Linked DNA regions of Homo sapiens: regions 1, 2 and 4 are each linked to region 3. The links are contacts of gene promoters, found by promoter capture Hi-C in blood cells and fetal thymus (Javierre and others, 2016). All regions are on one chromosome and are shown on one strand. The core of a region is centred on a gene start or on the middle of the fragment in contact, and the rest is flanking DNA. Distances in the headings are between cores, read along the strand shown.

Region 1 (3,220 bases), core at 555-3,054, 240 kb before region 3:
TGAGTGACAACATGATGCCACCAGTGGAAAATTCCACACCTGATCTCGTGTGGCGGGTTGCAGTCAGCATGCAGTTAAATCTTTCATATATGCACAAAATTATTAAAACTATTGTCCAGGGCCAGGCACAGTGGCTCACACCTGTAATCCCAGCATTTTGGGAGGCCAGGGCAGGCAGATCACTTGAGCTCAGGAGTTCGAGACCAGCCTAGGCAAGGTGATGAAACCCTGTCTCCTCTAAAAATACAAAAAAAAAAAAAAAACATTAGCTGGGCACGGTGGCACACACCTGTAGTCCCAGCTATTTGGGAGGCTGAGGTGGGAGAATCACTTGAACTGGGTGGCAGAGGTTGCAGTGAGCCAAGATCATGTCACTGCACTCCAGCCTGGGCAAACAGAGGGAGACCCTGTCTTAAAAAAATATATATACATATATATATATAGTTTAGGCTATGTCTATAAGGAGTATATGAAATATAAATGAATTTCATGTTTAGACAGGGGTCCCAACCCCAAGATATCTCGTTATGTATATGCAAATATTACAAAATCTGAAAAAATTTAAAAGCCAAAAATCACTTCAGTCTGGTGCCAACCATTTTTGCATAATTGCATTTTCCATGTTGCATTTTGCAACCATTTTGCATAATTCTGTACTTCTTTCCCTTTTGGGTTTGTTTTCATAACTGCTCAGTAAAAAGTGTTCTGTGTCATCTTTCCATTATTTTGGGCTAAATCATGTTAATGGCCAAGCCTGTCAGAATTCATTTGTTTTGAGTTAACTTCCTGGTGTCCAGTTCTCAGGAGTTGCAAGAATAGAGCTCTTCCCTCATGCAATCATCCAAAATCCCAGGCCTCTAACCAGGATTGGGGAACACCACTGTTGGCCAAGAGCAGAAGGCTTAAAGCTCTGGTCATAGTCATGGCACTGTACAAACTGTTCTTGTTCCCTACAAGAACATGGGAACTATTTGGATAATGGATTTATGAATTTAATTCTGATGGATTTTTATAAAGGAGCTAAAAATAAGCCTATATAATTTATTACATGTATAATCATATAATTTTAAATGTGTATAATTTATAATATTCATCGAAACATTTCTTTTTGGAAATTAAATTTCACTTTGGTCAAAATCATCTTACAAAACAAGATGACTCATGATGGTTCTAAATAATGTAAACCGGTGTCTGTAACTAATTAATGCTCTGGAGGAAGGAAATTCTGAGTTCTGACACAAAAGCACGTCTAAGTGGTATTGGTATTTTCAAAGCTTTTACTACAACCAAAAATATGTTCACGTGTACCTGTCTCCTCTTTACACTGCTTACTTTCTCTATCGCTTTTCCCAAATACGTCCCCAGTAACTTCCTCATGTTCTGTGCACCACCTCCAATCTTCCCCTAATGTGTATGAACTTGGTCATCACCAAAGAGGTGGAAAGGAAGAAGGGCATGTGCTAATATTAATATTGAGGTTTGGGCTGGGTGTGGTGGCTCATGCCTGTAATCCCAGAATTTTGGGAAGCCGAGGCAGGTGGATCACGAGGTCAAGACATTGAGACCATCCTGGCCACATGGTGAAACCCCGTCTCTACTAAAAATACAAAAATTAGCTGAGTGTGATGGTGCACAACTGTAGTCCCAGCTACTCGGGAGGCTGAGGCAGGAGAATTGCTTGAACCAGGGAGGTGGAGGTTGCAGTGAGCCGAGATCGTGCCACTGCACTCCAGCCTGGCAACAGGGAGAGACTCTGTCTCAAAAAAAAAAAAAAAAAGAAAAAAATTGAGGTTTGTGCCAGTTTCTTTTTCCTTTAGGTCTCCTGATATGTGTCTAGTTAGTTCTATATACTTCCTGGAAATTCGACTCCAAGATATTTAATAAAACTAAACAGGGTTATATGTTGAATAGACAAATCCTAAAGAGCAGAAAGGATTTAGTGGTTAGTGAAATTTCATTGACTTAAGATGAGTTGGATCCTCAAAATTAATATATTCTAAACAAAGTTCTATTTTTAAGCTGCAGTAATAATGCCGAATTTCTCTTATAGTTAATTGAATGATTTATCCTGGTGTTGTCTCCTGGTAGTCACTGAAAAAGTCATTACAATCCTCACTTTCTCCCCTTTAATTCAAGTTCAGAATTCATGTGTTGCTGTGACTTTTTTTGAGTTTATCTGCAGACAGCTGCCATTGAATAAACATGTTTATATAGGGCAGAAAAAGGCAGCCTGAAGATTCTACTTTCTATTTCTTTTAGCACTGTTTGGCAGTTAACACCAACAGCGCTTCAGAATGAGGTACTGTCCAGCATACACCTTGCTTGTTCCTCTACAAAGCTTCTATTTTTGTTTTTGATTTGTTGTGAGGAAGCAAAGTGTAGCCTTTACTTGAATGAAAGCTACAGTTTTATTTTTCTTTCTTATTTACAAGAAATTCTTTTGATGATTAAGTTAGCCAGATACGCCCCGTGCGCTCATATTTCTTAACCTATTTTGAGCTGAGCTAGTTGCAAGGACTAGTTCTTCTGTGAAACCTCTGGCAGTCCATAAATTCAAGTTCGTGTCCAGACGTAATGGTGAACTCAATATGTTGTATATTTGATATATGTTTGTTGCACACATGGAGAGAAAAGTTGCTACCATTGTGAAGTAGCCATGAAATCCGACAGTTCTAATTTCTTTATCTTCTGAGTACCCATGGAATAAAGGACCTCTTAGTGCCATAGCAAGGCAGAAGTTTAATTTGCAATTCTGGTGGCAACATCCAGGTATTTCAAGTAGAAATTAAGAAAACTTTACGGAAAAACTATCTCAGCACTTCAGTTTAACTATTTTTCAAAGTCCAAGGAGGGTTTTCCCCAGTGTAAAAGCAGAAATGAGAATTTCAGATCTAAAGCGGTTCTTGCCTTTTCTTTTCCCTCCATGCACATGTGCTGACAACAGAAAGTAAAATTTGAAAAGAAAACCCAGGCTAGAGCATTGGGGTCACTCATTTCCCATCCAGCGAAGGGAGAGCTGGTGCCTGGCTGGGGGAGGTTAGGAAGGCAAGTCTTGGGATCTGATCACTCGGCTGGGAGTGGGTAAAATACCTGGACCTCAGGAGGCCGGATTGCAGCGCCAGTGTTCTCTACCTGTGTGGCCTGTTCCTGCCTGGGGTTGGGTACCAAGTCCAGGTGGAAGTGGTCCCTGGAGCATCCTCTCTCTGAAGTGTTTCTTTGT
Region 2 (3,630 bases), core at 542-3,041, 220 kb before region 3:
CAGACGGCTGCTGTAACCTCCAGAAGCAAATTCAGATCACTCAGCTCTTTGGGGTTCCCGTTGTGGTGGCTCTGAATGTCTTCAAGTAAGTCCAGCCTCCTCCTTTAAATGTGGGCATTATCACTAGGCCACCCTGTGAACGATATTTGTGTCTTGGGGTATTTGGTCTTTCTGTGCTTCATCTAAAAGTATACAGAAATACCCAGTTCTTTCTGTTTGTTTATTTGGTTTGGTTTCATTTTAGCAAATGTGTTCTCACAATGTTATTAAGGAAGTGAAATTTATATATAGTGAGTTACTATCTCCTTGGCTTTTTTTTTTTTTTTTTTTTTTAATTCTACCCAGCATTTTTGTCTGAAACAAACTGTGAATGATCAAAGGGATATGTTATGGAATTTTCTTGATAACACCCTTAACGACTTGAAATATTTGAGTCACTTTAGAGAGGACTTTTTTTTTCCATGCTTTAAGTCTGATTTATTTAAACACGATGTGACCACTTTTGATGTTTAAAATGTATTCAGTGTTAGGGAGCGAAGTTCTGTATAAATGGTGAGTCTTTCTTTGAAAACATAGCTAAATGGATACAGATGCAAAACCACAAACATTTTCTTCACTAGGACCGACACCCGCGCTGAGATTGACTTGGTGTGTGAGCTTGCAAAGCGGGCTGGTGCCTTTGATGCAGTCCCCTGCTATCACTGGTCCGTTGGTGGAAAAGGATCGGTGGACTTGGCTCGGGCTGTGAGAGAGGCTGCGAGTAAAAGAAGCCGATTCCAGTTCCTGTATGATGTTCAGGTAAGATCTAGTAAAAACAATGGCTCACATTTCTTACACCTTAGCATGGGTTGTCCCATTCTGTTGTCACCACAACCCTACAGATAAGAAAACTAAAGATAGAAGAGTTTAGGCCCGGTGCAGTGGCTCACGCCTGTAATCCCAACACTTTGGGAGGCTAGGGCGGGCAGATCACTTGAGGTCAGGAGTTCGAGACCAGCCTGGCCAACATAGAGAAACCCCATCTCTACTAAAAATACAAAAATTAGGTGGGCATGGTGGCGTGCACCTATAGTCCCAGCTACTCGGGAGGCTGAGGTGGGAGAATTGCTTGAACCCAGGAGGTGGAGGCTGCAGTGAGCCAAGATCGAGATCACACCACTGCACTCCAGCCTGGGCGACAGAGTGAGACCCTGTCTCAAACAAACAAACAAAAAGGTAGAAGAGTTTAAGCCATATGACAAAGTCACATTTCCAAGTACAGACCCTAGCTCCTTGTCCCAAAGCCTGTGCTTTTGAAGACTCCCAAATCGCAGTCCTAAGTGAGGAGGTACTTTAGCGAACAGGATTTGACAGCTGACGCTTTCAGGAGTTGCACAGGAACAAGAGCAATTTCGTGAGGATTGGGAAACCATGGGAGGTATTTTCCTTGTTCATTTCTCTTTTTTTTTTTTGAGACAGTCTCTGTTGCTCAGGCTGGAGTACAGTGGTGCAATCTCGGCTTACTGCAACCTCTGCCTCCCAGGTTCAAGCACTTCTCTGCCTCAGCCTCCTGACTAGCTGGGATTACAGGCACCTGCCAACACGTCTGGCTAAGTTTTTGTATTTTTAGTAGAGACGGGGTTTCACCATCTTGGGCAGGCTGGTCTCAAACTCCTGATCTCATGGTTCACCCACCTCGGCCTCCCAAAGTGCTGGGATTATAGGCATGAGCCACCACACCTGGCCTCTGCTTGTTCATTTCTGTTATGGTTCTTTTCTCTTGTGGTTTTATTGAACTATGTCTAGTGTATGTGTGTGTATATATACATACATAATATATTTATTTATTTTCATTGTGGTAAATATATATATAACAAAATTTACTATCTTAGCCTTTTTTTTTTTTTTTTTTTTTTGAGACAGAGCCTTGCTCTGTTGCCCAGGCTGGAGTGCAATGGCGTGATCTCGGCTCACTGCAACCTCCACCTCCCGGGTTCAAGCAATTCTTCTGCCTCAGCCTCCCAAGTAGCTGGGACTACAGGCGCAAGCAAGCGTGCCTGGCTAATTTCTTTTTTATTTTAGTAGAGTCGGGGTTTCACCGTGTTGCCCGGGCTGGTCTCGAACTCCTGAGCTCCGGCAGTCCACCCGCCTCGGCCTCCCAGAGTGCTAGGGTTGCAGGCGTGAGCCACCACACCTGGCCCATCTTAACCATTTTTAAGTGCACGTCAGTAGTGTTAAGTACATTCACATTGTCATGCAGCCAATCTCCAGAACGCTTTTCATCTTGCAAAACTGAAACTGTACCCACTGAACAACTCCCCATGCCCCTCCCTACAGTCCCTGCCAGCTACCATTCTCCTTCATTTCCATGAATGTAACAACTCCAGGGACCTCATGTAAGTAGCATCATACTGTGGCTGGCTTATTTCACTTAGCATAATGTGCGTGCATGTTGTAGAGTGTCAGAATTTCCCTTCTTTTTTTTTTTTGAGATGGAGTTTCGCTTTTGTTGCCCGGGCTGGAGTGCAGAGGCACCATCTCAGCTCACCGCAACCTTCTGCTCTCGGGTTCAAGCAATTCTCCTGCCTCAGGCTCCCGAGTAGCTGGGATTACAGGCGTGCACCACCACGCCCAGCTAATTTTTGTATTTTTAGCAGAGACAGGGTTTCACCATGTTCGTCAGGCTGGTCTCAAACTCCTGACCTTGTGATCCACCCACCTCGGCTTCCCAAAGTGCTGGGATTACAGGTGTGAGCCACCGCGCCCGGCCAGAATTTCCTTTATTTTTCGGGCTGAATACGCTCCCATTCTTTGGATATCCCACATTTTGTTTCTTTGTCCATCTGTGGATGGACACTTGAGCTCCCCCTCACAGCTATTGTAAGTAATGCTGTATGAGCATGCGTGTTTATGGCATATGGCATATGTACAAGTATCCCTTCAAGACCGTGTTTTCTTTTTTTTTTTTTTTTTTTTTTGAGACGGAGTCTTGCTCTGTCGCCCAGGCTGGAGTGCAGTGGCGCAATCTCGGCTCACTGCAAGCTCCGCCTCCCGGGTTCATGCCATGTTTTCAATTCTTTTGGAAATGTATTCCCAGAAGTGGGATTGCTGGGTCCTCTAGGATATTTTTAAGCACATGTCGATGGTTCAGTCAGAAGACCTGAGCTTCCCAGGGCTCACTCTCCTCCTCAGATCGTCTGTCTTTGCACCCGTCTGACATCTCCATTCTGAATTTTGTGGTTCCGATTCTGGCTGATGGATTTGTCTTCAGGGGTAGTGCATGATTGTGGAGTGCCCAGGCTTCAAGCTGATTGCTGCTTCTCCTGTTCCTTCATCCCTCACATATTCTATTGTTGAGTCACTCAGATGTCACAGACACTCTTCTTTCCTGTTCAGTGGCATAAATCAATAGCATAAGTGAAGAAGAAATCCGTGAAGCAAGAGCTTAGCAGCGTTGTTGATAAGCCTGGAGTCACAGTGGTGAGAGAACGGGGCTGATGTATTAATATTTAATATTACCACAGCTCTCGCTTTTAAGGAGTTGTTTGTGAGCTGGGTATATGGGCGCTTTGCACATGTTCACCTCTTTGGTCCTAACATCCCTCTTAGGTGGAAACTGGTGATATCTTCCCATTTTACAGACAAGAAAAC
Region 3 (3,452 bases), core at 171-2,670:
ATGGGGTTATTGTAAAGATTATTATGTAAAGTGCATTGAACAGTGCCTGGTACAGAGTAAGAATTCTAATGTTTCCTAAATAGTCAAAATTTAAGTCAAAATGGGGGAAATGTGTATAAATTCCTAAAACTAAGCATTTTGCAAATATACTGTTTCTTAAGAGATAAACTCCAGAGAAATTGGCCTTCGTGTAGTCCTTTAAATAAAAATAATTAATTCAGAAAACAGGCCCAGTGTGGTGGTTCACACCTATAATCCCAGCACTTTGAGAGGCCAAGGCAGGAGGATCGCTTGAGCTCAGGAGTTCAACACTAGCCTGGGCAACACAGCGAGACCTTGTCTCAAAAAAAGAAAAAGAAAAAAAATTAATTCAGAAAACAAATTTGATGGTGAGTAACTAACCTATGGTTCCCAGGGTACCATTCGATTCATGCAATTCATTAGGCATGAAACATCCTAGTGCTGAACTACTGCTTACACCCTTTCTACAAAATTGTACTAAATCTGAGTATGAGATATTTATCTGGAATTTGGTGTGAATATTCCGAAAGTTTCTTCCTTCTTTCTTTCTTTTTTTTTTTTGACAGAATCTTGCTCTGTCGACTAGGATGGAGTGCAGAGGCACAGTCATAGCTCACTGCAGCCTCGAATTCCTGGGCTGAAGTCATCCTTCTACCCCAGCGTCCCCAGCCTCCTGAGTAGCTAGGACTACAGGTGCACCACTGCGCCTGGCTAATTTTTTTATTTTTTGTAGAGACAAGGTCTCGCTATGTTAACCAGGCTGGTTTCTTCATTCTTAATGGAGATTCAAAGTATTTGTGAAAACTGGGGCACTCGGTTGCTAGTTACAACTGGAATAAATTTTGTCTTTCAGCCCCAAAGCCTTAATGCTTTGCGCCAAGCAATCCAGCTACAAATTTAATTTAGTTCAAATACTTATTGATTGGCTGCCATGCTCATGTAATACATATTATATTCAAGGGTCGGAAATGAAAGGATGCAAGCCACTTGTGCTGGTATTATTTAAAGTCTTCATCTTTTGAGAAAGGCTGACGGCAAAGGAACAGATCTATGCTGTCATGTGTCGGCATCGCGCGGAGCAGAGGTGGCCTGGATGGGTAACTTCCAGCACAGGCCCTCAAAGAAGGACGGGCACATTTCCGGTAACAGCCTCATTTCCCCCCGTTCCCCGGGGGAAGGGGGGCGGCTAGCACTGCTGATGGCATCGCCTGACATCACTTGTTCCGGAGGATAGGAGAGCGTGGGCCTGCGTGGCCCACCTCATCCGTGGCCTGACTGCGTTAACCTCTCGGTTCCCTGCTCTTGCCACGTGAGGTGCCCAAATATGGTCGGACTCAGGAGGAGCCAGGGAGCGCTTGCCTTTCTCCTGCTAATGGGGAGGAGGCTGGAACAAATGTTTGGAGTTAAACACAATCTGCAGGAAAGCAAATGGGGACTCGGACTCGCTCCTGGGCGAGCTGAAAGTCGGCTGCAGCAGAAGCTCCTGCCTTGGGTGATCCATCATTTAATAAACCCCAGAGAATCCAGTGTCCCCGGCAGGCTTTTTGCTCCCCTGCTCTCTTGCCTTCTGAGGCCCTGGGTCGTCCCCGCAGCTCTAGTCGCCCTGTTAGAAACGGGAGGCGCCCGAGGGCCGGGTGGGCGGCTGCCTGGACCTGGGCTGGCGCGTCGCAGCGCCTCTGGTCCCGGCAGCCTGGGGGCAGATGCTGCTGCAGGGCGTGTCTGGGGCTGTGCTCATGTGATGAAGCGAGGGAAAAACCGGGGGGAGGGGGGCGGAGGCTAAGAGGTGGCCTTTTTTTTTTTTTCCTTTTCTTTTAAGGAGTTTGCCGCGAGCGCGTCTCCTTCATTCGCAGGCTGGGCGCGTTCGCAGTCGGCTGGCGGCGAAGGAAGGCGCTCTCGGGACCTCGCGGGCGCGCGTCTTTTGGCTCTTGCCCCTGTCCCTGCGGCTTGGGGAAGGCGTAACCCGGCGGCTAGGCGCGGGAGAAGTGCGGAGGAGCCATGGGCGCCGGGAGCTCCACCGAGCAGCGCAGCCCGGAGCAGCCGCCCGAGGGGAGCTCCACGCCGGCTGAGCCCGAGCCCAGCGGCGGCGGCCCCTCGGCCGAGGCGGCGCCAGACACCACCGCGGACCCCGCCATCGCTGCCTCGGACCCCGCCACCAAGGTACGGGCGTGCCGGGCCACCTGCGCCGGGAGGCGCGGGTCTTTGGGGGTGGGGGTGGGGGTGGGGGGGTCCCTCCGATTTCCGCCGAGAGAACTTCCCAGCCCATCCAGCCGCATCTGCAAACTCAGGAGTGCGAACCCCTCTTTGGAGGCTTTTCAGGGTCTTTCGCGCCGGGGCGGGGCCAGAGCAGCGGCGAGCGCGGCGGGGGGCTTGCATCTTTGTCGCGGGTCTCCAGGGGAGGCGACTGCGCCATGCGCAATAATAAAACCCGCGCCCTGCCCACGGCGGCTGAGCCTTTCTGCGCACTCTTCCGGTGGGAGCCATGCAGCCCGAGGCGGAGGAGCTGCGCGGAGGGGGATCCGTGGAGAATGGACCCCGGGCCGGGCCTCCGGAGCTCCGAGATGCGGAAAGTCAGCTGTGAGGCCAGGACTCGTGGTGGAGCCCGCCGGGGAGCCCAGCCACCCTCGGGTTCCCCGTCGCGTACCGCCCTGGATGCCAGCGGTGCCTGGAGCGAGCGGGTTTGGTACCCAGTCCTCCTGCGGCAGCGGCCCGAGCAGGCACCGCCTTCCCGAGGCAGAGAAAGCCTGGGGTGTAGCTCGCTCAGAGCCAGGAAAAACCTGGGCAGGCGCTGCGTTTCCAGAAGGAATGACAGGTTTCGCAAACCAGCCAGCGCCCTCGCGTTCGCTCAGCGCTTTGCCTGCAGACTCAGTTGGCCAAACACACGCTAGAGTGGCTAGAAGTTCTCAAAGGATGGGGTCAGTGTAACGAGCATTCCGGGTACTCTTCCCTGGACGCAGTGCTGAAACGACTGCATTTTATCGGCTTCAGTCTTCAAGGCTGGAATATTTCTTGTGGGCCAGGACAGCCGCCAAGACTGTGGCTTGTTCTGGTCGTGGTATTTTAGATCTATTTTCCAGCGCATGTGTTCATTAGCAAGGCTTCACTCTACTGATTTTGTGATACCCTTGTATCACAAAGGTACCCTTGTGATACCTTGTAGAAAGATGTGGATAACCATGTTTAATAGTTAAATTTGCGGTATGTCAAATTTGAGGATAGAGTACGTGAGTTATCGCAGGAGGTGTAGATGTTTACAATATGCAAAAAAAAAAAAAAAAAGGAACCTACAACCATGACCTAATTGCCTTGACCTCCTTAGCTGCCCTAGTCTCTTTTGGGCTGAGAGACTGCTGTTAATAATATAGTTTTTACCGCCAGTCTTTGATTCATAACTACTTGTAAAATCCATGGTCCCTAGATATTAAGTACTAACT
Region 4 (3,615 bases), core at 289-2,788, 180 kb before region 3:
TTTATAAAATCAGAATATAAAATTTGAAAATGTTCTTTTTTGGTGAGAAATGAGAACTACCAAAGGAGTAAAATGCTCTAAAAGCCATCAGGTCCTTCCCACAGTATTGAGGCTCTGCTCTTACCATTTTGTTAAATAAGTTTTGTTCCTAACACTCTTTGTGATATGAAGTATTCTTGCTAATCAAGCTGCCCGGAGACTGGCGTTTCCCAGAGCAGTTTCGAAAGTGGAAATGATGCTGCATTTCCTACCCACAGTCTGGAGGGTGGCTGTGCTCTCTGCACGGTGGGTCTGTGCTGCTCAGTTACGGGATGGTAAGGGAAGGCTCTAACTCGGTGTCTTACACCATGCACTAGGGAGTCGCCCGCTTTATTTACGAGCGAGTTGATGCTTTCAGTGGGTTTTGGCTTTGCCTGGTTCCAGACTCAAGCCCTTCCTCTAATGTAGGGCGGGTACAAGAGAGACTTGAGCAAGGATATTGGGATTTAAGGGAAGGGCAGTGCAGGCCAAGGTCAGCAAGAGGACATCTCTAAGATGAACAGCACTGCATTTGTGGGAAGCAACCCTGCCATAAACAACTCAGTTAACGTTTACATAGTAAATAATTGCATTGCCTTGGGCTGGAATAGGGACGCCAGAAGGTATAGGACCATGTGGAATTCAGAAAAGGGAGCCCTGAAGAATGAGATTTTATTGTTCTTACCAGGAGAGTCCAGGTGCTAGAGTTCTCTCCTTGTAAGTGACTAACCTTCTCCCTTTTGGTACACAATCCTCAGATGAACGGAGATGATTCATTAGGCCATTCTAGCTTAATGGATGCATCACTGTGCAACCACGCAAATGCCTCATTTCTGATTCACTCATTTAATATTTATTGAGGAGTGCTGGGTACTAGGCCATTAGAAGAACAAACAACAACAACATAGGCCTGGACCTTGCACTTGCAGAGTTCACAGGCTAGAGAGGCACACAAGTTAAATATAGAGACAGCTGAAAGAGCTGACGTCTGGGACAGAGGGAGCCCCCTGCTCCAGGAGCCAGGGAGCAGATGCCATGGGGGGCTGGCAGGGATAGGGAAGTCAGGCCAGGAATGGGGTTACCTAAGCCGGATCATGAAGGACGAGAACAGACTCACCAGGGGTCGAGGGACAAGGAGGCAGCAAGTCCGCAGCATGAAGGCAGGAGAGAACATTGCTGTAAGCCTTTACCATGGCCACTGCATGGGGAGGAAACAGGAGATTTGGAATGAGCTGTGACACTGGGCAGGAAAGCAAGACCCAGGTCTTGTGAGGCCTTGAGCGTCAAGCTTAGGAGTCAGGACCTGGGGATTTTAAGTACAGCAATATCATAATTACATTCATGTTTCAGAGAGATCACTCAGGCAGCAGTCTGGAAGGTGGAGTGGAAAACGGAGAAATTAGTCATGAAGACCTATTTAGAAAGTAGTAGGCAAGAAATACCCAGGGCCTAACCTGAGGTGTAGGCAGGGGATGGGAATGAGAGCAATTACCGAACTAGAATGAACTAAACTCAATGAACAGGAGCGGGGAAGAGGGAATGCAGAAATGGCTCTCAGATTTCTGACTTGTTCGCTTAATGACTGGGGTTGTCATTTGTTTAGATAAGCAATAAAGAACCTAGAAACAATTTTAGGCGGAAGATAGTTGTGTTGGGAGCCCCTAAGACCATGATTTATTACAGCACAAGGATACAAAGCAAAATTAGCAAAAGGAAACAGCACGTGGGGTCAAGTCCAGGGGAGCTCAGGCGCAAGCTTCCAGAGTACTCTCCCCATAGAGTCACACAAGATACACTTAGTTCCTCCAGCATTGAACTATGACGACACCTGAAATATTGTCTGCAGAAGAGGCTCATTAGAGACTCAGTCCCCAAGGTTTTTATTGGGTAATGGTCACGTACCAAATTTCAGTCTCTCAGAACAAAAGCAAATGTTCAGCATAGACCATTTTGTTTGTGAAATTTAGGCACAGTGAGCCCCTCTTGTCAGTTAGAGGATAGTTGAAACCCTCCCACAATCCAAGTTCTCAGACTCAGGCCTGCTACATTATTTCTTTCCTACACAGTAGTGGATTTGGTTACTAACATGTTGGATCTGAAGCATTTGTTGTAATTTACAGTGAAGATGTCCACTGCACAGTTCCGTATTGAGTCTGAGGTTCACTGGAGACATCTGTGCTATCAATGAAAGTTTCTGGAGTCATTAGCCCCTCAAAGGGTCATTAAAACCAGGTCTTCTAGAGAGAAAGTCTAACCCTGTATTCCTTTAAACCACCATAGAGACCATCTAGTTCTTCACATTATAAAAATGAGAAAACTGAGTCCCCAGCGATGTGGCTTGGTTGCACATTTTTCTATTTCAAGTCTGTTACTCCTTCCATCATACCAGACTGCCTCACAAAATGACAAAGTCAGGCATTGTTCATAAAAGAACAAAATGGCATTTAGGTTATAAATCAGGCCCTTGTAAGTTTGGTTAATACAACTTATTTCCCAAAGATCCTGGTCCTCAGACCCTCAAAAGGAGAGCTGATCACATCAAGGCCTCTACCTGGAAGGAATTTCTAAGCAGCCTCTAAGTCAACTGTTCATGTTCAGTCCACCTTGATTTACAAAGAACAGTGAATCATTAAGACCTTTCTCTCCAAGGCCGGGTGCGGTGGCTCACGCCTGTAATCCCAGCACTTTGGAAGGCCGAGGCGAGCGGATCACGAGGTCAGGAGATCGAGACCATTCTAGCTAATACGATGAAACCCCGTCTCTACTAAAAATACAAAAAAAATTAGCCAGGCTTGGTGGCGTGCACCTGTAGTCCCAGCTACTCGGGAGGCTGAGGTAGGAGAATGGCGTGAATCCGGGGGGCAGAGCTTGCAGTGAGCCAAGATCGCGCCACTGCACTCCAGCCTGGAGAACAGAGACTCCATCTCAAAAAAAAAGACCTTTTGCTCCTCTTTGCTCTTGTGTCTGTTTAACAGATTTTTATGTTAACAGGCACTCTGTTTGCCACTAGGAATAAAAAGATAAATGGGACAAAGTCTTTGCCCTCAAGTTACTTATATTCTAGAGCCAAGAAAGAGATAGATGAAGAACACATCTTATATATTAGGACTGTGTTGGGGGCAGGAGTAGGCAGAGTAACCCTTTGGATATGGGAAATGAAAATAAATCAAACTCAAAACAAGTTTATTATTTGCTTGAAGCTCTGGTAAAAGATAAAGTGAAACCTGCAAACTGTAAAATGAAGTTGCTGCTACACATTTCTCCAGTTTTGGATTTCATTCTTGGATGGCCTTTAACTTGGATAGAAGGATACAAGACAGCCATATATATATATATATACAGCTGTTGCTCTTTAAGATATCCACTTCACCCTGTTGTGGGGTGGGAGGAGGGGGGAGGGATAGCATTAGGAGATATACCTAATGTAAATGTCGAGTTAATGGGTGCAGCACACCAACATGGCACATGTATACATATGTAACAAACCTGCACCTTGTGCGCATGTACCCTAGAACTTAAAGTACAATAAAAAAAAAAATTAAAGAAAAGAGATCCACTTCGCTCAGCACATGTGATTTGGCTTTGGTCTTTGGTGTT

Evidence for each region. Contacts are between HindIII fragments. The CHiCAGO score rates a contact against its expected background, and 5 or more counts as called.
Region 1: a contact is called between a fragment that was not itself captured here and the fragment with the promoter of AKAP12 in region 3, in 1 of 17 cell types (endothelial precursors). The highest score is 6.2, in endothelial precursors.
Region 2: a contact is called between a fragment that was not itself captured here and the fragment with the promoter of AKAP12 in region 3, in 2 of 17 cell types (endothelial precursors and megakaryocytes). The highest score is 14.0, in endothelial precursors.
Region 4: a contact is called between a fragment that was not itself captured here and the fragment with the promoter of AKAP12 in region 3, in 1 of 17 cell types (endothelial precursors). The highest score is 7.0, in endothelial precursors.

What each region holds. Positions count from the first base shown.
Region 1 is chr6:150,998,576-151,001,795 of GRCh38, forward strand. The region is part of intron 20 of MTHFD1L (methylenetetrahydrofolate dehydrogenase (NADP+ dependent) 1 like); the gene reads left to right. Among named protein-coding and RNA genes, the nearest start is that of MIR12131, 100 kb to the right of the region's middle. The HindIII fragment of the contact is 1,064 bases long and covers 1,273-2,336 here.
Region 2 is chr6:151,014,896-151,018,525 of GRCh38, forward strand. MTHFD1L (methylenetetrahydrofolate dehydrogenase (NADP+ dependent) 1 like) reads left to right here. Exons shown (of 28, transcript NM_015440.5): 23 at 1-85; 24 at 621-798. Among named protein-coding and RNA genes, the nearest start is that of MIR12131, 86 kb to the right of the region's middle. The HindIII fragment of the contact is 4,585 bases long and covers 1-3,630 here.
Region 3 is chr6:151,238,547-151,241,998 of GRCh38, forward strand. AKAP12 (A-kinase anchoring protein 12) reads left to right here and starts at 1,421. Exons shown (of 5, transcript NM_005100.4): 1 at 1,421-1,513; 2 at 1,838-2,178. The coding sequence starts at 2,017. RefSeq lists enhancers at 1,224-1,733, 1,811-2,388. The HindIII fragment of the contact is 4,204 bases long and covers 1-3,452 here.
Region 4 is chr6:151,059,489-151,063,103 of GRCh38, forward strand. All of the region lies in intron 26 of MTHFD1L (methylenetetrahydrofolate dehydrogenase (NADP+ dependent) 1 like), which reads left to right. Among named protein-coding and RNA genes, the nearest start is that of MIR12131, 41 kb to the right of the region's middle. RefSeq lists enhancers at 578-1,777, 2,025-2,194 and a cis regulatory region at 2,110. The HindIII fragment of the contact is 468 bases long and covers 1,305-1,772 here.